3 separate regions of the Homo sapiens genome follow, and all the other regions are linked to region 1. Evidence: promoter capture Hi-C in human tissues and cell types (Jung and others, 2019). All regions are on one chromosome and are shown on one strand. Each heading gives the region's core, a stretch centred on a gene start or on the middle of the fragment in contact. The rest is flanking DNA. Distances are from core to core; before and after follow the strand shown.

Region 1 (3,687 bases), core at 343-2,842:
GTCACTCCTGGACCCCTCACCGGGGGCGCAGAGGAGGCCTGGTGAACGTGACAGACCACCCAGTGGGGCGCAGGACGGGGCAGGTCCTAGGAGGCTGCTGGGGCCAGCGACAGGAACCCACAGCTGTCCCTGGCCATCACCCCCACTGGCCTGATGTGGGCTTCGTCTATTGCTGCTCCGAGGGTGGGGCTGCCCTGGCCCAAAGACCCGGGAGGCCAGTGACCCCATGAGCAGTGGCCTGTGGAGGCGTGTGTTTGCACCAGATCCCCTAGAGGATCACTGTCCCCTGGGCAAGTGTTTCTGGAAAGCCAAGGTAGGCCCTGCCCTGAGACCTGCGCCTCCCCGCCAGGGCAATGGGAAAGCCCAGCTTTCCAGGGACTCCACTGCCACCCACACAAAACCCTCTGAAATCGCTGTTCGGAGGCAGCCTCCAGCCATGCGGCCCTGCAGCAGGGGGCAGCTGTGATCCACGTGTCTGGGGGAAAGTGTAGACTGGGGGCTCGGCCTCCACCGGCCTCTCCTGGCCGTGGGTGTACCCACCCAGGATGGCGGCTTCTTCGCTCAGTGACCGTCCCTGCTGCGGTGCTGGGCAGTGTCGCTTGGAGACATTTGTGGTCCCCAGCTCCTTCCCTCAGCCCGGCCCTGTCCCCACTGCTGAAAGAGCCTGGCTTGGATGGAGCTTGGCAGGCTCGGGAGTGGGCACCAGGGTGGGTCTGTGCCCTGAAACTCAGAAGCAGCCTGGAGGTGAGTGGAGTTGTAGGTGCTGTCCACAGCCAGCTGGCTTTGTCCAAGGAAACTGGGCCCATCATGGCCGGAAGCCCCACAGTGAGGGGGACTGTCCCAGGCAACCCTGCCTGCCCACCCTCCAGTTCCCACAGGGCCCCTCACAGAGAAGCCCACCCGCAGGGCTCCTGGGCCAGGCCAGGCTTGGTTCTGGATGCAGGAGGGGTTGAGGTAGGGCTGGGGGAGGAATGTGGAGTGTGCAGTAGGCTGTTCTTCCCACACGGCCCTGCCCCATGTAGGAAGAGGGAGGCGGGGAGGGGAGGGTGCTTGTGTGCAGTGGCTGTGCCGAGCCTTCCAGGACATGCAGGTGCCATCCTGGTCCCGGGGCTGCAGTGGGCGCACTCAGCCTCTCTACTCCTGGCACCCCGGACAGGGACTCCTGGGAGGACACAGCCTCTGGGAAGTCACCCTGCTCCGTGCTTGCCTGGCCCGAGAGTGGGCAACACCAGGCCTGAGCTGCAGAGGAGCTGGATTTTGTCTTTCCAGGACCCCTCCCTGCAGCCTTTCCAGGACCCCTGTCCTGCCTTGCCTGTCTGGGGACACACGGACAGCCGCTGTGCCGCGCCAGGCCCCAGCACCTGCCTGGGAGCTCCTGAGTGAGTGGAGCCTGGCTCTGAGTGCTGCTATTGCTAAAAGAGGTAAGACTGGGGTTTCCTGCCACTCCCTCCCTCAGGAAGGTGACGAGGCCATGCTGTCATCACCAGTAAGATACCCCAGCCCGGTTGGCTAACCCCTAGCTCAGCCCTGTTTGTGGTTAGGGGAGTTCTAGACAGAACATAATTAGACCCCTGCTACTTCCTGAAACCTCAGCTAGGACTGCAGGGAGGGGTGCGAGGCTAGCCACGCAGGCGGGGCCCTGGGTAAGTCGCTGGGCTCTGCGTGCTGGGGAGTGGGCCTGGGGGGCCAGGCTCTGGGATGGGGCTGGGGGCTGGGAGCTGGAGGCGGGCAGAGGGGGATCTGAAGGCAAAGGTGATTTGTTGGTAAAGATGGAGGCTTTGTTGAGGGTTCTTAATCTGGGGTCCCTCCCGAGAGAACCCAGGACCCCCAGTGACCACAGATGTGATGGGGCCGGAGGATTTGGGGGAGAGGGACAACAGTTTCCATTGTATCTTTGTCACCGCCACCTTCCTGGAGACTTTCTTCTGGAAAAGGCTTCCCTGGCTACTGGTCCAGATGGGGGTGAGTCAGGGGGCTGGACTTTGTCCCTGGAATCTCTCCTTGGCCACTTGCTTCCGTGATTGGTCGGGGGGCACTGAAGGGCTGGGCTTCTCTCTGTGGGGCCTGTGCTGCTTGTGGGGTTACACAGAGGGAAAAGCAGGGCAGTGGGGGCTGTGCTGCGGTGAGTGGCAGTTGGCCCAGTCACGTGACAAGATCCTGGAGCTGGGCAGGTCACCGGCCTTTGGAGTGGCGTTCGGCGCACCAGGCACAGCGGGGCGGGGGGCCCAATACCTTCTGTCAAGTGCATGACGTGGGTCTGTACCACTGCAAGGGACTGGGACTGACCACTGAAGACTGGCCAGTTGGGCTGAGCACAAAATGATATTTCAGGAGATTGGCCAGGCCGAGGTGGGAGAGCAGAGGCTCCTGGAAGAAGATGAGGATAGGGGCTGGGCACGGTGGTTCATGCCTGTAATCCCAGCACTTTGGGAGGCCGAGGTGGGCGGATCACTTGAGGTCAGGAGTTTGAGACCAGCCTGACCAACATGGTGATACCCTGTCTCTACTAAAAATACAAAAATTAGCCGGGCGTGTTGGCACACGTCTGTAATCCCAGCTACTTGGGAGGCCGAGGCAGGAGAATCGCTTGAACCTGAGAGGCGGAGCTTGCAGTGAGCCGAGATCGCGCCATTGCACTCTAGCCTGGGCAACACTATCAAATTGGGAAAAATAAGAAAGTTGACAATGGGCTTTGGATGGGTGTGGTGGAGCAGGGAGGTTGGAGCTGGTGACTCCACATTTCCCTCCCTAGGGTTTGTCTCAAACGTGACGGCAGAAAAGAGGTCATAGGTTTGCCTGGTGCCAAAGCAGGTGGGAGTAAAAGACGGAAATGGCTAGGAATGGCCAGCAACCGTGAAACAGCTTAGAAATTACAGGCAATCCAGCCAGGTGCGGTGGCTTACGCCTGTAATCCCAGCACTTTGGGAGGCCAAGGCAGGTGGATCACCTGAGGTCAGGAGTTCGAGACCAGCGTAACCAATATGGTGAAACCCTGTCTCTACTAAAAATACAAAATTAGCCGGGCGTGGTGGCACACGCCTGTAATCCCATTTACTTGGGAGGCTGAGGCAGGAGACTCACTTGAACCCAGGAGGTGGAGGTTGTGGTGAGCCGAGATCGTGCCATTGCACTCCAGCCTGGGCAACGAGAGCGAAACTCTGTCTCAAAAAAAAAAAGAAAGAAAGAAATTACAGATAGTCCACAAGACAGACCTCAGCAGCCTGAGGAGCTGTTTTTGACAAATGGGCTGGAATGAGGAACTGCTCCCTGCACATGGCAGGGGCCAGGGCTCCTTCTCTGTCCTTTTGTGTCTGTCTGAAAAGTTCCATCATAAGTTACAAAACAGGCTGGGCGTGGTGGCTCACACCTGTAATCCCAGCACTTTAGGAGGCCGAGGCGGGCGGATCACCTGAGGTCAGGAGTTCAAGACCAGCCTGACCAATATGGCGAAACCCCTTCTCTACTAAAAATACAAAAAATTAGCCGGGCATGGTGGCAGGCGCCTGCTAATCCCAGCTACTTCAGAGGCTGAGGCAGGAGAATCACTTGAACCCGGGAGGCAGAGGTTGCAGTGAGCCAAGATCGTGCTATTGCACTCCAGCCTGGGCAACGAGAGAGAAACTCAGCCTAAAAAAAAAAAAAAAGTTACAAAATAGATTTTAAAAGACTGGAGGAGCACAGCAACTT
Region 2 (3,967 bases), core at 1,390-3,889, 220 kb before region 1:
GAATACACACTGCTCACAAAACAAAGAACTCTGAGGGAGGGTCGGAGTTGCAGGCACCTGGAGCTCAGCCTGGGGAGGCCTGGGCCAGATTTCTGCAGAATTTAGAATTGGCTCATCAGTGCTGCTCAAAGCCCCCTTATTCCAGGATGGGTCTCTCCTGAGTCCTGCGTTTCTCCCTGGCCTCTCTTCTGGATTCTCATATCAGCAGGCACCTCACTGTGGCCCTGCCAGGTCCTCTCCAGCCCCCACAAGGAGACACCACTGCGACCTGCTCCAGCTTCTGTTTAGTTTATTATTTGTTCAGACAGGTTCTCACCGTGTTGCTCAGGCTGGAGTGCAGAGGTGCATCACAGCTCACTGCAGCCTCCACCTTCTGGACTCAAACGATCTGCCTGCCTCAGCCACCTGAGTAGCTGGGACCACAGGCATGCCCTACCATACCCCGCTCATTTTTTTTTTGTAGAGATGGGATCTTGCTATGTTGTCCAGGCTGGTCTTGAACTCCTGGGCTCAAGCAGTCTTCCTGCCTCAGCCTCTCAAAGTGCTGTGATTACAGATGTGAGCCACTATGCCTGGCCTGTTCTAGCTTCTTTTTTTTTTTTTTTTTGAGACAGGGTCTTGCTCTGTCACCCAGGCTGGAGTGCAGTGGCACGATCTCAGCTCATTGCAGCCTCGACCTCCCGGGCTCTAGTGATCCTCCAACCTCAGCCTCCTGAGTAGTAGGACCACAAGCAGGTGCCACCACACCCAGCTAATTTTTTTCAGTTTTTTTTTGTAGAAATGGGTCTCCCCCCATCCTGGCTAACACAGTGAAACCCCGTCTCTACTAAAAACACAAAAAATTAGCCGGGCGTGGTTGCAGGCACCTGTAGTCCCAGCTACTCGGGAGGCTGAGGCAGGAGAATGGCATGAACCCAGGAGGCAGAGCTTGCAGTGAGCCAAGATCACGCCACTGCACTCCAGCCTGGGTGACAGAGCGAAACTCTGTTTCAAAAAAAAAAAAAAGAAAGAAAGAAAGAAAGAAATGGGTCTCCCCGTGTTGCCCAGGCTGGTATTGAACTCCTGGGTTGGGCGATCTTCCTGCTCCGGCCTCCCAAAGTGTTGGGACCACAGGTGTGAGCCACCATGCCCGGCCACCACTCCAGCTTCTTTTTTACTTTATTTTATTTTTATTTTTATTTTTATTTTTTTGAGACGGAGTCTTGCTCTGTCACCCAGGCTGGAGTGCAGTGGCACCATCTCTGCTCACTGCAACCTCCACCTCCTGGGTTCAAGCGATTCTCCTGCCTCAGCCTCCTGAGTAGCTGGGATCACAGGCACCCGCCACCACGCCTGGCTAATTTTGTATTTTTAGTAGAGACAGAGTTTCACCATGTTCGCCAAGATGGTCTCGATCTCCTGACCTCGTGATCCACCCACCTCGGCCTCCCAAAGTGCCGGGATTACAAGCGTGAGCCACCGCGCCCGGACCTTCTACAGCTTCTTGAAAGCCACTAGGTTTGTGGCAATTTTTATGGCAGCCACAGAAAACTAGTACATAGATCCCAGTTGTGACAACCTAGGTAGTCTCCAGGCACTGCCCCCGTCCCGGCACCACCTTTGTTGGAGGCCTGTGCTCAGTGCTGGTGCCCTGCTGCTGCTGCCGGCCACCCCTGTGGCCACGTTACCCACCAGGAGGCCGGCTCTGGGCCTCAGCCTGAAGGAGGCCCGGGCTTTGCCTCTGCTGCCACCAGGAAAAGCTGAGTGCCACCTGACCCTGTTCAGCTCTGAGTTTCCGGACGGGCCCAGTAGCTGCCCCTTGCTCTCTTCAAAACTTTTCTTGGCTGCTCTAATTCCTTTTTGCTTCCAACTGAACTTTAGAATCATTTTACTGGAGTCTTTAAAGAGTGTTGTTAGTATTTGTTTGGGATTCAGTTACATTCATTGTGAAGCCAGAGGCCGTGCCTGTTCTGCCTTGTCTGTGCTGGTGGCTGCCCCTGGATGACGCTGAGGTCCCTGCCTCATGGTTTCCCTGGAGGGCCTGGCCCCAGGCTCCAGCGATTGGCTTTCTGCTTCTGCATCCTATCCTTCCAGTGTCCTCCGACAGGCCCTACACACTTGCCTTCCCCCAAGTGGCCAAGGTTGTCTGCGCGTCCCGATTGCAGCAGCCTCCAGTCCTGTGTCTGTGCTTTGTCACAAATGCACTGGCCCCTGTGCCAACCACTGAGGGCCGACGCTGCGGGGCGGGGGGCACTTTCCAGCTCTCCCCATCTTTGGGCATGCCTGGGGCCTCACCTTACTGTTCTCGTTGGAAGATCAGGCCGCAGCGTTTGGGTTGGTGAACCTGGTGAACAATCCACATGTCCACCATGCTCATTGGGAGATCAGGCTGCAGCGATCGGGCTGGTGAACCTGGTGAACAATCCAAATGTCCACCTGATGTTTCCAGAGGTACCAGGGCCAGGTCTTAACCCCGAAGCCCTGCAGGGCAGAATGTGGTGGACGTCGTAGGCATGCTGTCAGTTGGCAGAGCTTCGGAGTAGAGTGTCCAGCAGGTTCAGCTGCAGCCTCCCCATGGGTGGGTGGACTGAGGCGTGGGGGCCTTCTGCAGACTGGCTGGTTGCAGTGCCTTGGGGCACATGGGATGGTACCTGCGTCCCCTGCAGTCCAGCAGGGAGGTGGATGTGTTCACATGTGGTCACCATGCAGGAGTGATATCTGAGTGGGCTGGCCTGGGGCAAGGGGGACGGCCAGCCCATGCTGTGTGTGCACCACTTGCAGAGGTTTGGAGGTACATCTGTGTTCTCGCCCGGCAGCCATTTGACAGCGTCCACTCTGGACTTGCAGTGTGTTAGGGACATGGTTAGAAAATGCAGAAAGTGCCTGTAATCCCAGCCGGGCGTGGTGGCGGGCACCTATAGTCCCAGCTACTTGGAAGGCTGAGGCAGGAGAATGGCGTGAACCCAGGAGGCGGAGCTTGCAGTGAGTGGAGATGGGACCACTGCACTCCAGCCTGGGCAACAGAGGGAGACTCCGTCTCAAAAAAAAAAAGAAAATGCGGAAAGTGCAGTTGGCCCACCCTCAACCCTGCTGGCTGGGCAGAGTGAGAGATGCTTCCCCCACTGGGGTTCCTGGCTCAGTGACGGAGGTGCGGGGGGCCGACCTGCTGCTTCCCCCATGAGTGCTGACCCCCGCTTTGTTCTCACTTTGTGTCTGTGGATGTTAGGAAAGGGTTGTAAATGCAGATCTCCAAGTTTTGGCTGATCTGTCTTTTTTTGTGTTTCCAGGTGCTGGCAAAACCCCGACTCTGGGTGGCGGCTTCCACGTGAATCTGGGGAAGGAGTCGAGAGCGCAGACCCTGCAGAATGGTATTTCCCACCGCGGATGCTGCTGAGCGTGCGGCGGGTCCCAGAGATGGGGATGGTGGTGCTAGGGTGGAGGGCACTGACTCAGCCATGGACCTCATGGCCTGCCACTTCCTCGTCACCCTGCACGCCCAGCCCAGGCTGCTTTCCAGGAGGAATTGTGCCCTGAGTCCCCTCCTGGGTGTCCTGCAGACTCTGCCAGGGCTGTTTGGGGAGAACCCAGTGGATCCCACAGGATCCACAGCCATTGCTTGATGGCCTCAGTGAGATGGAGGCAGAAATAACACATTTATAGCAGTTGGATATTGTAGTGACATTCTCACTGCGTTTTGTCAAAGTGCCAGTTCACCACAAACTGGAGAAATGTCTGCTGGGTTATTTGTCTTATGATTGAGTTGAAAAAGTTCTTTATGTGTTTTAGGTACAAGTCTTTTATCGGATGTGTGATTTTATATATTTTAGGTGCAAGTCGTTTATCGGATGTGTGATTTTATGTGTTTTAGGTACAAGTCTTTTATCGGATGTGTGATTTATAGGACATTTTCAGCCATTTCATGCGTTCTTTTCATTTTCTTTTGTCTTTTTATTTTTCGCTGGTATCCTTTGGAGCATGAAAGTTTTAA
Region 3 (3,610 bases), core at 336-2,835, 220 kb after region 1:
TTTACCCCTTTCCCCCAATCTGTGTCCTGGCTCCTGCCTCCCCACAAAACACAGCCTGGCCCGCATGCCCCTCAGGGTCAAGTCATACAGCTCAGCCCAGCTTGGGAGAACCACCTGCACCAGACCCTCACCTCCCACCATCACCTTTGACTCCAGCTAAGCTCCAGGCCACCACTCTGAACTCTGAGCTTTTGCACATGCTGTTCCTCTCCCTTCCCTTCATGGGTTGTGTGCCATGTGCCCTTTTTTCTCAGGGTAAATGCCTTCTGACCCCAACTCTGCTCTTCCTCCGTAACCCCCCAGTGTGCATTTGTCACACTATGGTTCTGGTTAGTGAAGCCCTCAGCCTGTGCGGGGCTGGGTGAGGAGGAATCTGCAGGGGAGGGGCCAGCCAGCCAGCAGTAGGCAGCCAGGGCGCTGCATCCCGGAGGCTGTGGTCCCTCCTTCGCAGGTGAGCTCTGAGCACCAGTGAAAGCCCCTCTTTGCCCGCTCTGCTCTGAGCTGATTTCCAAACTTGGAAAAACGGAGACCGTAAGTTAAGAGACCTGAACGCTGGACACATCCGTTGCCAGAAAGAGGCGCTAGGGAGTGAATGAGCGTGACATAAAGAGTCTCCCTGAAGACAGCCATCTCCAGGGCCTGGGCCTCCAGCAGGTCTGGCCTTGGGCGGGAGGCTGTGCAGGCAGAAAACCTGCCTCTCGGTCTCCGAGTGGGCGAATGCGCGCCACCGTGGCTGCACCAGGCTTGCTGGTGATTTGGGAAGAGTTACGTGGCCCCTCTGAGCCTGGGTTTCCTCACTTGCATGGCCTGAGGACCCCAGGCAGAGGAAGCAGGGCCCGGCTGGGCCAAGCTAGATCCTGTCTGGGGGCTGCCGGGCTGGAAACAGCAGGAGCAGAGGGCAGCTTCCGTGGCACAGGAGGCGCGGAAAAGCGGCGCAAGGAGGTGGGGACGGATGAGAAGATTTTGAAATGCGTGCCTGGTTTCCCCTATAAAAGTCGAGTTGCAGAATCTTATTTTGAGATACAGTCCCCTCCCACCCCTGGGGGACTAGGGGTACTAGGGAGCGTCTCATTCTTCTCTCCTGAGTTCCGAAATCCACCTCCGAGAGCGCAGTCTCCAGGCTTTCAGCAGCCAGGCAGGCGCTCGGCGAGAAGGGTTTCTGGAATTCGAGCGATGCGGCTTTGCTCACCAGGGAGCCAGCCCGGGACCCAGAACTTACACCCGGGACCCCGCGAGTACAGGACACCGGTGGGGACAGGAATTATCCCCCGCCCAGGAGGCACTGAGACCCTGCGGGAGGCGTGCGCGGCCCTAGGGGAGGGGAGGGGAGGCAGCCGCCACTCGTGTCCGCGGAGAGTTGGGAGGCGGTCGGTTTTGAAAGGCGGCCAGGGGAGCTTTGTGCTGAACCGGGAGGGCCAGATTTACTCCCTCGGGCCTTCCGGAGTCGCTGCCCGGGAACGCGTGTCTGCCCCCGCTGCGCCCAGACGCGCCTGTGCAGAGAACAGGTGTCCCGGGGGACCGAACGCACTGAGCGCGGATTCTGGGAATATATGCGCGTCCTGGCTCCGGGTAACAGAGCAGCGGAAAGCACCCGCCAGGGAAAGCAGGAAGGGACCGGTCCGCCGGGCGGCGGGGCAGGCGAGCCCGGGGGACGGAGGCCAGGAGGGAGGGAACGGCGGGAGAGACAGGGTTTTCGTTTGGCTTCACTTGCTGTTTAGGATGAGGAAGCCTTAGGGGAGGGCCAGCGGCCAGGAGGAGGCCGCCGGGGCGCTGCGGCGACGGAGCCCCACTGTGTGCCTGCCCCTGCAGGGCCCCGGCCTGGCCTCCAGCACCACCTGCACTTACAGGTGAGCGTGGGGGGCTTGGCGCGCTGGGCGGGCATCCCGGGGTGACAGCACGTATGCCCAAGGTGGCCTGCTTGACTCTTCCTCGAAGCTTCTTCCTTTCGGCCCCCAGGCCTAGAACTTGGGGGCTCACACCCGCAGACCATCAGTCAAAGAGCCTGGGCCTCCCCCAAAGGGCCTCCTGGTACCTCATCTGCCAGGACCCCAACCCCCAAGCTTGCAGGGACAGAGGTTCAAACCTCTGCTGGGAGCGAGCACCTGGTGTTTCCAGCAGGGCCCGGCCGAGGCCATGAGCAAAGGCAGTGGGGAGGAGGAGGAGAGCAGGGCTCTGCTTACCTGCAGAGAACAGACAGGTCTGACCCAATGCACTTATTCCACAGCACAGGGAAAGGCGGGAGCCCCCAGCCCCCAATAACAGATGGTACAGAGGAGAAGGTAGCCACCCACTTGTGCACATAATAAAAGTGAAATAATTGGCGTAAACATTGGTAAAAAAGGATTACAGAGCTTCCCCTTCTTTTTTTATTTTTACATTTTTTTATAGAGATGAGGGTCTTACTATGTTGCCCAGATTGGTCTCAAACTCCTAGGCTCAAGTGATCCTCCTGTATCCGCTGCCCAAACTGCTGGGATTATATGTGTGAGCCACGGCACCTGGCCAAGCTCTTCTTCTTGATGATGATATGCTTGAACACCTGAACGATCTAAGAGACTCAAGTAAAAACTGCTGGCCTTAATAAAATAATCTGGTAAATTGAGAAGAGAAGAAGTATGCTCAATGATCAATCTTTCTTTCCATTCCAATAATGAGCTTCTGGCAAAGGCAATGGGAAATCTATCCCATCCAGAAGAGCGACAAAGAAATATAAAAAGCTTAAGAAAATCACTAAGGAAGGCACAGAACCTATAGGAAGAAAACATGGAATGATATGGAGCAATATCTGGACAAAAGAAAGCAATACCAGGTAGAACCCCAGATCTTTTCAATGACTAAAACTATCTTAAAGTGTATATGGAAGAATAAATGCTGAAGAACAGCCAAGAAAAGAACAAAAAAGAAAAGTGTGGCCAGGCGCAATGGCTCACGCCTGTAATCCTAGCACTCTGGAAGGCTGAGGTGGGCAGATCGCTTGAGTCCAGGAGTTTGAGACTAGTTCTAGCCTAGACAACATGGCGAAACTCTGTCTCTACAAAAAATACAAAAATTAGCCAGGCGCGATGGCACATACCCTTAGTCCCCAGCTATTTGGGGGTCTGAGATGGGAGGATTGCTAGAGCCTGGGTGGTTGAGGTGCAGTGAGCCATGATCGTGCCACTGCACTCCAGCCTGGGTGACAGAACAAGACCCTGTCAAAAAGAAAGAAAGAGAGGAGAAGGAAGGAAGGAAAGAAGGGAGTAAGGGAGGGAGGGAGGAAGGGGAGGAAGGAGGGAAGGAGGGAGGGAGGGAGGAAGGGGAGGAAGGAGGGAGGGAGGAAGGGAAGGAGGAAGGAAGGAAGAAAGGAAGGAAGGAAGGAAAGAAGGGAATGAAATAGAAAAATGAGCAAAGGTTATAAATAAGCAATTCATAGAAGAGCAATATGAAATGGTTAACAAACATTTGAAGAAGTTCTAATTCACTAGCCATCAGGGAAGTGTCAGCTAAAGCACTGCTCACACAGGGATCTACCCCCAGGTGTCAGACACAGAAGACAACCTAGCACCTAGTGCTCCCAGAGGTGTGAGGGCCCCAGGGACCCTCATTTGCTGATGGCGGAAATGAAAATCAT

What was found. The method cuts DNA at HindIII sites, captures the fragments that hold promoters and counts their contacts. A contact is called where the count stands out against the background at its distance.
Region 2: a contact is called between a fragment that was not itself captured here and the fragment with the promoter of GPR132 in region 1, in 1 of the 25 tissues and cell types used here (IMR-90 fibroblasts).
Region 3: a contact is called between a fragment that was not itself captured here and the fragment with the promoter of GPR132 in region 1, in 2 of the 25 tissues and cell types used here (dorsolateral prefrontal cortex and lymphoblastoid cells).

The regions. Positions count from the first base shown.
Region 1 is chr14:105,063,335-105,067,021 of GRCh38, reverse strand. GPR132 (G protein-coupled receptor 132) reads left to right here and starts at 1,592. Exons shown (of 4, transcript NM_013345.4): 1 at 1,592-1,643. RefSeq lists enhancers at 444-513, 724-893, 569-1,086, 2,764-2,903, 3,014-3,113 and 1 more. The HindIII fragment of the contact is 15,172 bases long and covers 1-3,687 here.
Region 2 is chr14:105,285,676-105,289,642 of GRCh38, reverse strand. It overlaps BRF1 (BRF1 general transcription factor IIIB subunit), which reads left to right. Exons shown (of 18, transcript NM_001519.4): 2 at 3,267-3,347. Among named protein-coding and RNA genes, the nearest start is that of BRF1, 13 kb to the left of the region's middle. RefSeq lists an enhancer at 2,822-3,720. The HindIII fragment of the contact is 6,229 bases long and covers 1-3,967 here.
Region 3 is chr14:104,841,643-104,845,252 of GRCh38, reverse strand. No RefSeq gene overlaps it. Among named protein-coding and RNA genes, the nearest start is that of CEP170B, 22 kb to the left of the region's middle. RefSeq lists enhancers at 1-537, 538-1,149. The HindIII fragment of the contact is 5,479 bases long and covers 1-3,610 here.